2 separate regions of the Homo sapiens genome follow, and region 2 is linked to region 1. Evidence: promoter capture Hi-C in 16 types of primary human blood cells and fetal thymus (Javierre and others, 2016). All regions are on one chromosome and are shown on one strand. The core of a region is centred on a gene start or on the middle of the fragment in contact, and the rest is flanking DNA. Distances in the headings are between cores, read along the strand shown. Region 1 holds the start of ZNF239 (zinc finger protein 239). Region 2 has its middle 73 kb from the start of LINC00839.

Region 1 (6,465 bases), core at 1,165-3,664:
AAACTGGCAATCCCCAGTTGCAGCGGCAGTGAATACTTAATCATTAGGGAGCAGGCAGAAGCGAAGGAAGGAAAATGTATTGATTCTACTAAGGTTAATCTCCCTTGAAGTCCTCAATTACTTTTCAGGGCACAGAGAAGCCATGCTCTCAGTACCTCAAGTCAGCTTACTGTCCTCTAAACAGATTTTTTCTAAGAGCTCATGTGTGTGAGGGCTGTATTTGCCAAGCAAAAAGATGGCCTTTGCTGGTAGTGTTAAAAAACATTTTTTTTCCCTTAAAACGCAGTCTGATATTTTATTCAAACAACTTCTGATGTGATGACCTGTTTAGTTAATGGAGAAAGAACAGCCTGAAGGAAGAAAACACGGGGTTTATTTCTGGCCTTCTGCTCTCTGAAACAAAGGACAAGGCACTTTCCTTCGGCTCTCTCAGAGTTAGCCGAGTTAGAGCTCTCCACCATAAAACGCCAGGACAGGGCAAAGAGGGGGCCGACCATCTCAAACACCATGGGATTCTAAGTGGGGGCTGACCATCTCAAATACCCTGGGAGTCTAAGGGTTAATTTTGAGGTAACCTCCTACAGATGGTTTTATGGGGACAACTGAAAACTCTCTTTAAAAAAGTACGACTTGGTAATTTAAAATTTACTGGAACAGTTAAATATGTAGACATGCTAGTGAAAGAGAACAAATCAACCTGAGTATAAAGGATGAATAACTCATTTTACCTACCCTAGAGACACTTATAGTGTATAGAGAGATATTTCACAATAAACCTTTGGATGTACAAAGATCAACAGAATAAAAAAGGAGTGAAACTCTCCTTTCACTAGGTCTGGAAGAGAGAAGGAAGCTTAGTTCTTAAAAAACACCACAGAGAGTTCTGATGCATAGCCTAGTTGAAAAGCATTTCTAGAGTGATTTTGTAACCACTGTGCTGCCATTTAACGAATTTCCTCGTTTTTGACTCATAGTTAATAAATTATCACTATTAATATGCATTTTTTTGTGTACAGGTAATATAATATGTTCATCAAGATGGTAAGCTCCTTGAAGAAAAGCACCGTGGTTTATCATTCTATCTGTTTTGCTGAGACCACTTAGCACTGGGATGAGTATGGAATAGCTTGGAATGACTTTCAATGTGAGTGAAATGTCTGGCAGGAAAAGGCAGGCTTTGAGAGGCTCCCCAGGAGGGCACAGCCCACTGCTCTGAGGAGTGGAATAAATTCTTGGAGGCAGGATGGGCCAGTGAAAACTCTCTGTGCAGACCCTGGTGACATCATCTGCTAGCTACATGTCCTTAGTATCTTAATGTCCCTACATCCATAGCTATAAAATACCGTACTGGGGGCCTGACAATAAAGAAAACAACACATGGCACAGGGACATTTCAGGGAGATGGCATTTTAGGAGAAATGGAACGCCAACTCACCCGGACCCTGGTCATTTCTTACTCCCAGAGGGGATGGATTCCTGGAAAGGCAGAGTTAGGGAAAGAGAAAAAGCCATGAAAATCAAGTCCAGCAAGACTGCGGGGAAAAAGTTACTCCGCTCCTGCCTCTGACGCTTCTTCAGTCACTTCCACCCACACTCCCTCCATCAGGTGAGAGGTGAAGCATTTTCTGTCACCACCTTCATCTCTCTCCACAGGGCTTTCGATTAAACAAGCCAAGTTTTCCCCCCAAAACCAAGAGGCTAGGTAAATTCCGCAGCCGCCGGCAGCTCGAAGCCGTGCCCATTTCCTCTGACTTTCCCGATCTCTGTCCTAAAGTTCTAGTTAAGAGGAGAAGCTTCTCGGGATGGATTTCGGTTGCCCAAGACGCCTTCCCCGACCTCATTCTCAGGAGCCTGGCTCGTTCCTGCGGTGCGGGGGCTCAGATGCAAGCTCTTTTCAGCGAAGGCAGTGCTGCGGACAGAAACCTCAGTCTCTTACAGGAGCCCCCGTCCGTCGCCTAACGTCCACCGAAAACCCCCCTGCAATAACGCCCGTCACAGGCGAGGAAAAGGCCGGCGTGGCCAACCACGAAGCCCCCAGCCGGCCCAGGCCAGAGCTCGGCCAGGAGGGAGGAGGGGCCATCGGAGGCGCGGCCGCTCAGCTGCAGGGCCCCACAGGCTTCGGTGTGGCCGCAGCCCGGCCCCGGGGGCGCAGCAGCTCGGAAATGCGGCGCCGGGACACACGTGCCGCCGCGGGCCGCGCCTCCGCTGGTCGCGTGCCCTACCATCGCCGCCCTCCCGGCTTCCGCAGCTCGGCGGCCCAGCGCCTTACCCGCGGCACACCCATTTCCTGACCCCTGAACGCCTCTGCCAGCGGCTGGGGAAGCCCGGCCAGTCTCACCTCCCACGTGGAACCCCACGCCTGCAGGGGCCAGATTCCGGATGCTGACCGCTCGCGCGCCTAGGGCCCCGAAATACAAGTCCCAGCAAGCCGCGGGCGAACCACGCCCACTTCCGGCGCGGGCCCCTGAACTCTGCGCTGTGCGGAGCGGGATTCTTGGGCGGAGGGGACCATCTTTGAGTCAGCGACGCGTGTATTCAAGTCCTCCTCCTCGTTTTTTATTACAAACAAATAAGAATTATTTTAGGAATACCTGTTAAGGTGATTTTCATTTGTTAAAATACTATTGGGGGAAAAGGATGTAAATACCCATAATTTCATCTTTACCTTTCAAAACATTCTGAAGTGAATATTTGCCATTCGGCATCTTCCATCTCACCTCTGAAGTTCATCCATTTAACAGATATTAATTGAGAGCCAACTGTGTACCAGGAGCTGTTCAAGATGCTTGCACAAAAGTCACTGCCCTATTCTAGTTGGGGAAACAAGCAATCCATAAATATAGTAAATATATGGCGTCGTGTGTGTCATGAGGTGGTACTGAAAGCATAGAGCTGGGCGGGGTGTGGCGAGGTGCGTTTGTGGGTGTGTAGGACTGGAGGTGTACTTTGCAATTTTAAATAGGGGATCTTGGAACAAACACAGGAGGTGAGGGAATTAGACAAGTGGCTCCCAGCAGTCAGAACTCTCCTAAACGCACACAAGGGTTGTTGATACCAGGATTTTACGTTTATTTCACTTCTCACCGAGTGACACAGAGCTACCCATTTGGTCTTTTCCCAATTCCTTTCTTTCAGATTTATTTTGGAGAGGAAAGAGATGTTGCCTGGACCTCTCTTCTACATCCTCCCCCTTCCTTGGTGTATTAGTTTCCAATTGCTGTCACAACAAATTAACACAAACTTAGTAGTATAACAAACATGTATTCTCTTAAACTTCTGGAGGTGCCAAGTCTGAAATCAAGTTTTACTGGGCTTTATAAAGTCAGTGTTGGTGGGGCTAGTTCCTCCTGGAGGTTCTAGATGAGAATATTTCTTTGCCTTTTCCAGTTCCCAGTGACTATTTGCATTCCTTGGCTTATGGCTCGCTCCTTTATCTTCAAAGTGCATGACTGCAACCTCTGCCTTCATCATCACATCACATGCTCAGGCACTGGCTCCTCGTGGGTCCTTCTAATAACGACTGTTGTGATTACATCAGGCCCAGCTGGCTAATCTGGGATAATCTCTTGACGTCAAGATCCTTAATTTAATCACATTTCAAAAAAAATCCCTCTTGCCATAGAAATTAACATCCACAGCTTCTGGGGGTTAGGACATGGACATATTTGGGGGACTATTATTTTCAGCCTGCGATGCTTGGAGAGGCCCACGTCCCCTTCGGTCTCCTCCTCAGAGATGCTGTCTTACCTTTTGCCTGGGGAACACAAAATGTCTCCCTTGGACCTTACTCCTCTCCTCATTCTTCATTGGAAAACCACAGAGCTTTTCCCTATTTAGATTTACCACCCTTGCCCTGACCTTCACTTCCTCATGTGCTCACTTCTCTCCTCACTCAATTTAAGAGGCCATGGAGCATGGTTATGGCCAGTCCTGTGTATGTGCCGTTACCCTTAACTCTCTTGTCCCAGTCTTTCTTGGTTTTATTCTCTTGATGGAAACCCAAATCTGCTTGAATCCAGTTCCTGGCCTGCGCCTGTACGGCAGAGGTTGTTTGAGAAAACCACATGGCTGGGATGATTGGTTTCATTTTCAGTTTATAACCATTAAGTTCAAGTGGGCCCTTCACGCTGCCTGGCTATCCTTCTACATTTCTTAGTCCATCCATTCTCCTAAATGACTATTTCACAGGTTCTACTCTCTTTTCATTATTTATTTATTTATTTTTTTGAGCCAGGCTGGAGTTCAGTAGTGCGATCTTGGCTGACTGCAATCTCTGCTTCCTGGGCACAAGCAACCCTCCCACCTCAGCCTCCTAAGTAGCTGGGACTATAGGCTTGCGCCACCACACCAGGCTAATTTTTGTATTTTTTTTTTTAAGAGATGAAGTTTCACCATGTTGTTCGGGCTGGTCTCCACCTCCTGGGATCAAGCGATCGTCCCACCTCAGCCTCCCAAAGTGCTGGGATTACAGGCTGAGCCACCATGCCTGGTCTTCTACTCTCTTTTCAAGCCGCCAACAACTCCTCCCATCTCACTGAGTGCTGATGACTTTGCTTTCTGTTACTGAGTAAAGAGAACTTCTATACCGCCTCACAGGCACATCTGCCCTCCTCTCTGCATTAGAAACTGTATGCTCTACTTTTCATTCTGAGTCACTGGCCCTAGTTCCTATATGAGAAAATTCTTTTGCACCCTGGATGTTAAATGCTTTCTCATGAATGAGGTCCTTCTCTCTCTTCTGTATTTCAAGATTTTCATTCTGTACTGAATTATCAGCATACTAATGAATACACTGTAATATTGTCCATAAAATAAATAAAACCCCTTACCTTGCACCCTATTTCTCTCCAGCCACTACCTCATTTCTCTGCTTTGCTTTACAGCAAAACTCCTAAAAAAATTGTCCCTAAGGGATGTTTCCAATTTCTTTTCTCCCATATTCTCTCTTTTTTCACATGCAAAACCCAAAATTTAATTTTTAACTTAATTTTAAAAATTGGTATATAATAGATGCACATATTTTGGGGGTACATGTGATAATTTGATTAATATTATGTGTAAAGATCAAAGCAGGGAAATTGGGATATCTATCGCCAAGTATTTGTCTTTTCTGTATGCCGGAAATATTCAAATGATTCTCTTCTGGCTATTTTGAAATGTACAGTAGGTTAATGTTAACCATAGCTAACCTACTGGTTTATTGAACACCAGGTCTTATTTTTTCTGTCTAACTGTGTATTACACCTTGGTATGTTTTGGCTCTGTGTCCCCACCCAAATCTCATCTTGAATTGTAATTCCCACGTGTTGAGGGAGGGACCTGTAATTCCCACAAGTGGAGGGAGGGAGGTGATTGGATCACAAGGGGCAGTTTCCCCCATGGTGTTCTCATGACAGTGAGTGAGCTCTCACAAGATCTGATGGTTTGTGAGATATGTTTGGAAGTTCCTCCTTTGTTCTTCTCTCTCCTGCCACCTTGTGAAGAAGGTGACTGCTTCTTCTTCCAACATGATTGTAAGTTTCCTGAGGCCTCCCCAGCCATGTGGAAGTGTGAGTCAATTAAACCTCTTTTCTTTATAAATTACCCAGTCTCAGGCATTTTTTTATAGCAGTGTGAAAAAAGACTAATACATACCCCTTAACCAGCCTCTATTCAGACCCCTACCTCTACTCTTTCTGAACTCTGGTTACCACCAATCTACTCTCTATCTTCATGAAATCCACTTGTTTTTTTGTTTAGCTCCCACGTATGAGTGAGAATATGCAATATTTGTCTTTTTGTGCTTGGCTTATTTACTTAACATCATGGCCTCTAGTTCCACCCATATTGCTGCAAATGACAGGATTTCATTCTTGTTTATGACTGAATAATATTCCGTTATGTACATACACCACATTTCTTTATCCATTCATCCATTGATGGCCACTTAGGTTGATTCCATATTTTGGATATTGTGAATATTGTTGCAGTAAACATGGGAATGCAGATAGCTCTTTAGTATATTGATTCCTTTTCTTTGGGATATATACCCAGTAGTGGATTTGCTGGATCATATGGTAATTCTATTTTTAGTTTTCTGAGGAGCCTCCATACTGTTCTCCATAGTGGTTGTACTAATTTACATTCCCATCAACAGTGTACAATGATTCCCCTTTCTCCAAATCCTCGCCAGCATCTGTTATTCCCTGTTTTTCAGATAAAAGTCATTTTAACTGTGGTGAGAAGATAGCTCATTGTGCTTTTGATTTGCATTTTTCTCATGATTAGTGATGTTTAACATTCTTTTATATACCTGTTAGCAATTTTATGTCTTCTTTTGAGAAATGTTTATTCGGATCTCTTTTGTCCATTTTTAAACTGGATTATTTGTGTTTTTACTATAAAGTTGTTGGAGCTCCTTGTATATTCTGGTTATTAATCCCTTGTCAGGTGGATAGGTTGTGGTATTTTCTCCTATTCTGTGGG
Region 2 (6,465 bases), core at 2,767-5,266, 1.0 Mb before region 1:
TACTGTAAGTAAATGCAAAAGCCAGTCTTATTGTATTCTTGGCTTTTATGTTCTCTCTTTTTTCTATATGATTTAAAAGACAAATACATAAAACAATAATTATAAATCTATGGTAATGTGCACGCTATTTATGAAGGCATAAAATGAGACAATAAGAAGACAAAGGACAGGGACAAAGCCGTATAGGAGGAGAGTTTTTATATAATATTAAGGCTTAGTTAGTATTAATGCAAGCTAGATTGTTATAAATTCAAGATGCTAATTGCAATTCCAAGTATTAACACTAGGTAAATAATGACTACAAACAAATACAAAAGGAATTAAAATGGCACATTAGAAAAAAACAAACACAAAAGAAGGCATACACAGAAAAACTGAAAACAAAAAAGATGTAATACGTATGGAAAACAAATAGCAAAATGGTATAAGTCCTTTATCAGTTTATAATTTACTCTAAATGTAAATAAACTAAACTCCCAACTAAAAGACAGAAATTGGCAAAATAGGCTGGGCATGGTGGCTTACACCTGTAATCCCAGCACTTTGGGAGGCTGAGGTGGGCGGATCACGAGGTCAGGAGTTTGAGACCAGCCTGACCAATACAGTGAAACCCCATCTCTACTAAAAAAAAAAAAAAAATACAAAAATTAGCCAGGTGTAGTGGTGTACACCTGTAATCCCAGCTACTCGGGAGGCTGAGGCAGAAGAACTGCTTGAACGCTGGAGGCAGAGGTTGCAGAGAGTCAAGATCGCACCACTGCACTCCAGCCTGGGTGATGCAGTAAGACTCTGTCTCAAAAAAAAAATAAAATAAAATAAATAATAAAAATAAAAATAAATTGGCAAAATAAATAAAAATATATGATCCAGGTATATATTGTCTACAAGACACTCTCTTTAGATACAAACACACAACACAATAGGTTGAAATTGAAATGACAGAAGAGGATAGTAACCTAAAGAATGCCAGGGTGGCTATACTGAGACAAAAGAGACTTTAAATCAAAAATTGTTACAAGAGAAAAACACTACATATTGATTAAAAAAAAAAAAAAACTAAGTCTACAAAGAAGACATAGTAACAGAAATAGAAATAAATCATCCTGAAGTTTACATAGAATTTCAAGGGATCTCAACTAGCCAAAATAATCTTGAAAACCCATGCATGTATGGTAAAATGATTTTCAACAAAGTTGTCAAGAACAGTCAATAGGGAAAGGACAATTTTTCTAACAAATAGTGTTGGTAAAACTGGATAGCCACATGCAAAACAAAACAAAAACAAAAAAATTAACTCAAAATGAATCAAAGACCTAAATCTAAGAACTAAAGGTACAAAACTCATGGCAGAACACATAGGAGAATGGATTCGTGTGGCAATGTTTTCTTGGATATAATACCAAAAACCACAGGCAACAGAAATAAAAATAAATTGGACCACATCAAACTTAAAAATTGTGCATCAAAGGACACAGTTAACTGAATGAAAAGACAACCAACACAACAGGAGGAAATATTTGCAATTCATGTATCTGATGAGGAATTAATATAAAAAATATATAAAGAACCCCTACAACTCAAAACAAACAAAATAACCTGATTCAAAGATGGACAAAGGATTTGAACAGACATTTCTCCATTAAAGATATATAAATGGTCAGCAAGCTTATGAAAATATGCTCAACATCACTGATCATTAGGGAAATACAAATCAAAACCACAGTGAAAAATTACCATACACCCATTACAATGGCTGCTATCAAAACAACAAAAGAAAATAACGAGTGTTGGCAAGGATATGGAGAAATCAGAATCCTGTACACTGAGGATGGGACTGTAAAATGGTGCACCTTCTGTAGAAAACAGGTCGGTGTTTCCTCAAGGAATTAAAAATAGAATTACCATAGGTTCCAGCCATACCACTTCTGAGTATATAACCAAAAGAACTGAAAGAAGGATCTCAAAGAATAGTTGTACCCCATGTTCACAGTAGCATTATTCACAACAGTTAAAAGGAGGAAGGAACCCAAATGTCCACTGACAGATGAATGAATAAACAAAACATGGGTACAATGAAATATCATTCAACATCAGAAAGGAGATAAATTCTGACACATGCTACAACACTGAGGAAGCTTGAGGACATTACGCTAGGTGAAATAAGCCAGTCACAATAAGACAAATACTGTATGATTTCACTTATATGAGATATAGCAAAAATAGTGAAACTCATAGAAACAGAAAGTAGGATGGTGGTTGCCAGGGGCAAGGAGGAGGGGAAAATGGGGAGTTATTGTTTAATGGGTAGAGAATTTCAATTTCCCAAGATGAAAAAATTCTGGTGATTAGATGTACAATATGAATATACTTAACACTGCTTCTGAACTGTACATCCAAAAATAGTTAAGATTGCTAAAGCAAAAAACTAACAATAAATAAAGATGCCTGCTTTGGCCACATATATTCAACATTGTACTAAAAATTTCAGCCAGAGGAATTAGGCTAAGTAAATAAATAAATAAACCCAAATTAGAAAGAAAGAAATGAAATAGTTTTGTTTGCAGATGACATGATCTTATATGCAGAAAATACTAAAGAATCCACAAAGAAACTACTAGAAGTAGGAAACAAATTCAGCAAAATTACAAGATACAAGATCAACACTCAAAAATTATTTGTGTACTCATTACAATGAGCAGTCAAAAAGCAAATTAACAATTCCACTTACAATAGCATTTAAACAAAAGAAATTTTAGGCTTGTGGGCCATCACAGTCTCTACTGCAACCAGTCAACTCTGCCCTCGTAGTGTGAAAGTACTCACAGGCTATACATAAATACATGAGTATGGCTGAGTCCCGATAAAACTTTATAGACACTGAAGTCTGAATTTCATATAATTTACGATAGCATTTAAATGAAAAACTATTTAATAAATTTAAGCAAGGATATGCAACACTTGTACACTGAAAACTACAAAATATTAATGAAGGAAAGAAGACCTAGGGAAAAAAAATCTTATGTTCATTGATTATAAGATTTAATATTAAGATAACACTCCCCAAAGTGTTATCACCCACTCTAATACTTACCCAATCCAATACTTATCAAAAACTCAACATACTTTTTTGCAGAAATAGAAAAGCTAACTAAAAATTCCTATGGATTGCAAAGCACCCTGCTGTGGAAAACTGTCGGTTTCACAATAAATTAAATGTAAAATTACCATATCACCCAGCAATTTCACTTGTACGTATATACCCAAAACAATTGAAAGCATGTATTCAAACAAATATTTGTACATGAATGCTCATAGGAGCACTCTCCACAATAGCGAAACACAGGATGACCCCCAATGTCCATCAACAGATGAATGGATAAACAAAAGGTGATATATCCATATAATAGAATATTGTTCAGTCATAAAAAGGGACAAAGTACTGATATACAACTACAACATAAATGGGTCTTGAAAACATTATTCTAAGTGAGAGATCAGACACAAATTGTATGATTCCATTCATATGCCATATCCAAAATAGGCAAATCTATAAAGACAGAAAGGAGATTATTGGTTGTTAGGGGCTGGGAGCACAGCGGGGAAAAGGGAGCAACTGCTTATTAAGTTACAATACTGCTTATTAAGGGTGATGTGTTTCCTTTTGGTGTGATGAAAATATTCCAGAAATAAATGGTGGTTATGGTTGTACAACATTGTGAATGTACTAAAGTCACTGAATTCTATACTTTAAAATGGCTTGTGAATTTCATGTGATGTGTGTTTTACCACAATTTTTTTTTTAGGTAGAATCCCTCGAAAGTTATTGCAAATATTCCAGTTCTGCCCAGTCTCTAAGGCTGTCACAAAGCCTGCCACATCCTAACAACCCATGATCACCCTAGCCTACCAGGACTGTTTCTTTAAACAACCATGAGTCCTAATGCTACACAATTCATTGGATTTTTTTTTTTTTTTTTTTTTTTCCTGAGACGGAGTCTCACTCTGTTGCCCAGGCTGGAGCGCAGTGGCACAATCTCGGCTCACTGCAACCTCCACCTCCTGGGTTCAAGTGATACTCCTGCCTCAGCCTCCTGACTAGCTGGGATTACAGGCACGCACCACCATGCCCAGCTAATTTTTGTAATTTTAGTAGAGACAGGGTTTCACCATGTTGGTCAGGCTGGTCTCGAACTCCTGACCTCATGATCCACCCGCCTTAGCCTTCCAAAGTGCTGGGATTACAGGCGTGAGCCAATGTGCCCGGCCTATTTGAATTTTTTAATCATATACTTTCTTTTGCTATCTGTTAAGTTTTCCCCTGGACTGCACATGAATTACTCACTTTGTTGTACTACTTTTTTAAGTACCTGCAAGACTGTCATCAGAAGTTTCACAATGTCACCTAATAAAGCCCACCGACAAACTGTTTTATGTTCCAGTTTCACAACTGTAAGATCACAAGATCTGCATTCACCTATATGACATTTTTGTCTTACTCTTCATCAACTCTCTATCAGAAATCAGCAAACATTTTCTGTAAAGAGTCACACAGTAAATATTTTAGGCTTGTAGGCCATTACAGTCTCTGCTGCAACCAGTCAACTCTGCCTTTGTAGTGTGAAAGTACCAACAGGCAATACATAAATACATGAGTATAGCTGAGTCCCAATAAAAATTCATAGACAATGAAGTCTGAATTTCATACAATTTCCAAGCAAAATAATACTCTTGGTTTTTTTCCCTCAGCCACCTAAAAGTATAAAAACCATCCTTCATTTGTGGACCATAAAAAAACAGACAGTAGGCTGCATTTGACCCATGAACTGTAATGTGACCTCTCCTCTATATTTTCCAGGATGTTATTTCTACTTTCATATGAATGTATAGACATTTTTTAAACCTCAATAATTAGTTTTAAGCAAAACTGTGAAAAAATAAACAACTTACCTGGGATGTGATCATATTCCACTAGTGTTGGCAGAGCAGAGAAAACCGAGAGGGTGTAGCTTACAAACAAGAAAAGAACATGAGAAATGTCACTTGCCTAAAAATGTCCACCTCCCAGCTGGCAAAACATCTCTAAAAGGGAGATACTCACACGTCCATGCATGACTCTGGCATGGTTATGTACTGCTTGGACACATTAGTTTTCAAATGTGAAAACGTTTGGTTTTCTACTGACTTATAAACAACTTATGCTGTACTCTAACAGAGTATGCAAACCAATATATTAAACTAATTAAGCAAGTTAGGAAAAGCCAAAGAATGGAACATAATACTTTCATTAAAACTGATGCTAAACAAAAATATTCAGGTTTTAATCTTTATTATAAACCAGAGAATCCCAACAAGGTTTTGAAAAAAGTGATGTGGTATTTTTCAGCCCAGTTTTTTTTTGTTTGCTTTTTTGAGACAGAGTCCTGCCCTGTCACCCAGGCTGGAGTGCAATGGCACAGTCTTGGCTCACTGTAACCTCTGCCTCCTGGGTTCAGGTGATTCTCCTGCCTCAGCCTCCCAAGTAGCTGGGACTACAGGTGCGCACCACCACGTCGGGCTAATTTTTTGTATTTTTAGTAAAGACGGGGTTTCACCATGTTGGTCAGGCTGGTCTCGAACTCCTGACCTCGTGATCTGCCGGCCTCAGCCTCCCAAAGTGCTGTGATTACAGGCGTGAGCCACTGCGCCCGGCAGAGCCCAGTTTTTTTGGAAGGAAAACGAACTTGCTCTAACTTGGTTTCAGGTTCTCAAAACCATCTTTGGATTTTAAAAAGCAAACGGATTTTTTCTTACTCTGTTGTCAATGCAGCAAACACCTGCCTGAGTCCTCAAGCGACTCAGTGTCTGTTCTTGACTCTGCCACAACAAAATGTGTCAATGTCAACAGTCACTTAACATGTTAAGCTTGTTTCCTGTCCACCCCACCCCATCCCATCTTTTAAATAAAGCCGAAATAGATAACTTACAGACCTTTCTTGCGGCTGCACCTCTGATTCTGTAAGATCAAGATGGGGGCATCCGTACATCTCTAGTTGTGCTGCAATATGCCAGCAGCTCAACATCGAGAACGAGCGAGTAACGAATCCAGGCATGGAGGGTGCTGTCCTCCACTTGGCTGCTAAGCTCGGCCCTCCGCATGATGCCTTCACAACTCCCCAAGAAGCGGTGCTGTCTGCTCCTTCGGCCTTGCCCTCCTCTGCCGCCACATCTGAATGGGCACAAATCTCCCACCATCACCCAGCCTGTGGGAGTCTGAACAGGACACAAATCGAGCCTCTGCTCCTCCCATCCGTGCTCTAGATCTCTAATGAGGTCTCGGCCCAACAGGTCCGATGTCCTCCTAGGAGGGCCCCTGCACCCTCACCCCTCCTTTCCCTTCTCACCCCACAACAGATGTTTTGCTCCAAGACAGCTGGGCCTAAGCCCTTCAGTTCGAATCCTCATCCAAGACTGAAAGCTCCTACATCT

The links. Contacts are between HindIII fragments. The CHiCAGO score rates a contact against its expected background, and 5 or more counts as called.
Region 2: a fragment that was not itself captured here is called in contact with the fragment with the promoter of ZNF239 in region 1 in 2 of 17 cell types (activated CD4 T cells and total CD8 T cells); the score reaches 8.9 in activated CD4 T cells.

What each region holds. Positions count from the first base shown.
Region 1 is chr10:43,572,202-43,578,666 of GRCh38, forward strand. ZNF239 (zinc finger protein 239) reads right to left here and starts at 2,415. Exons shown (of 4, transcript NM_001099282.2): 1 at 2,339-2,415; 2 at 1,436-1,476. RefSeq lists a silencer at 2,138-2,197. The HindIII fragment of the contact is 4,716 bases long and covers 1,792-6,465 here.
Region 2 is chr10:42,545,610-42,552,074 of GRCh38, forward strand. It overlaps the pseudogene ZNF37BP. Among named protein-coding and RNA genes, the nearest start is that of LINC00839, 73 kb to the left of the region's middle. RefSeq lists an enhancer at 5,997-6,465. The HindIII fragment of the contact is 3,766 bases long and covers 2,134-5,899 here.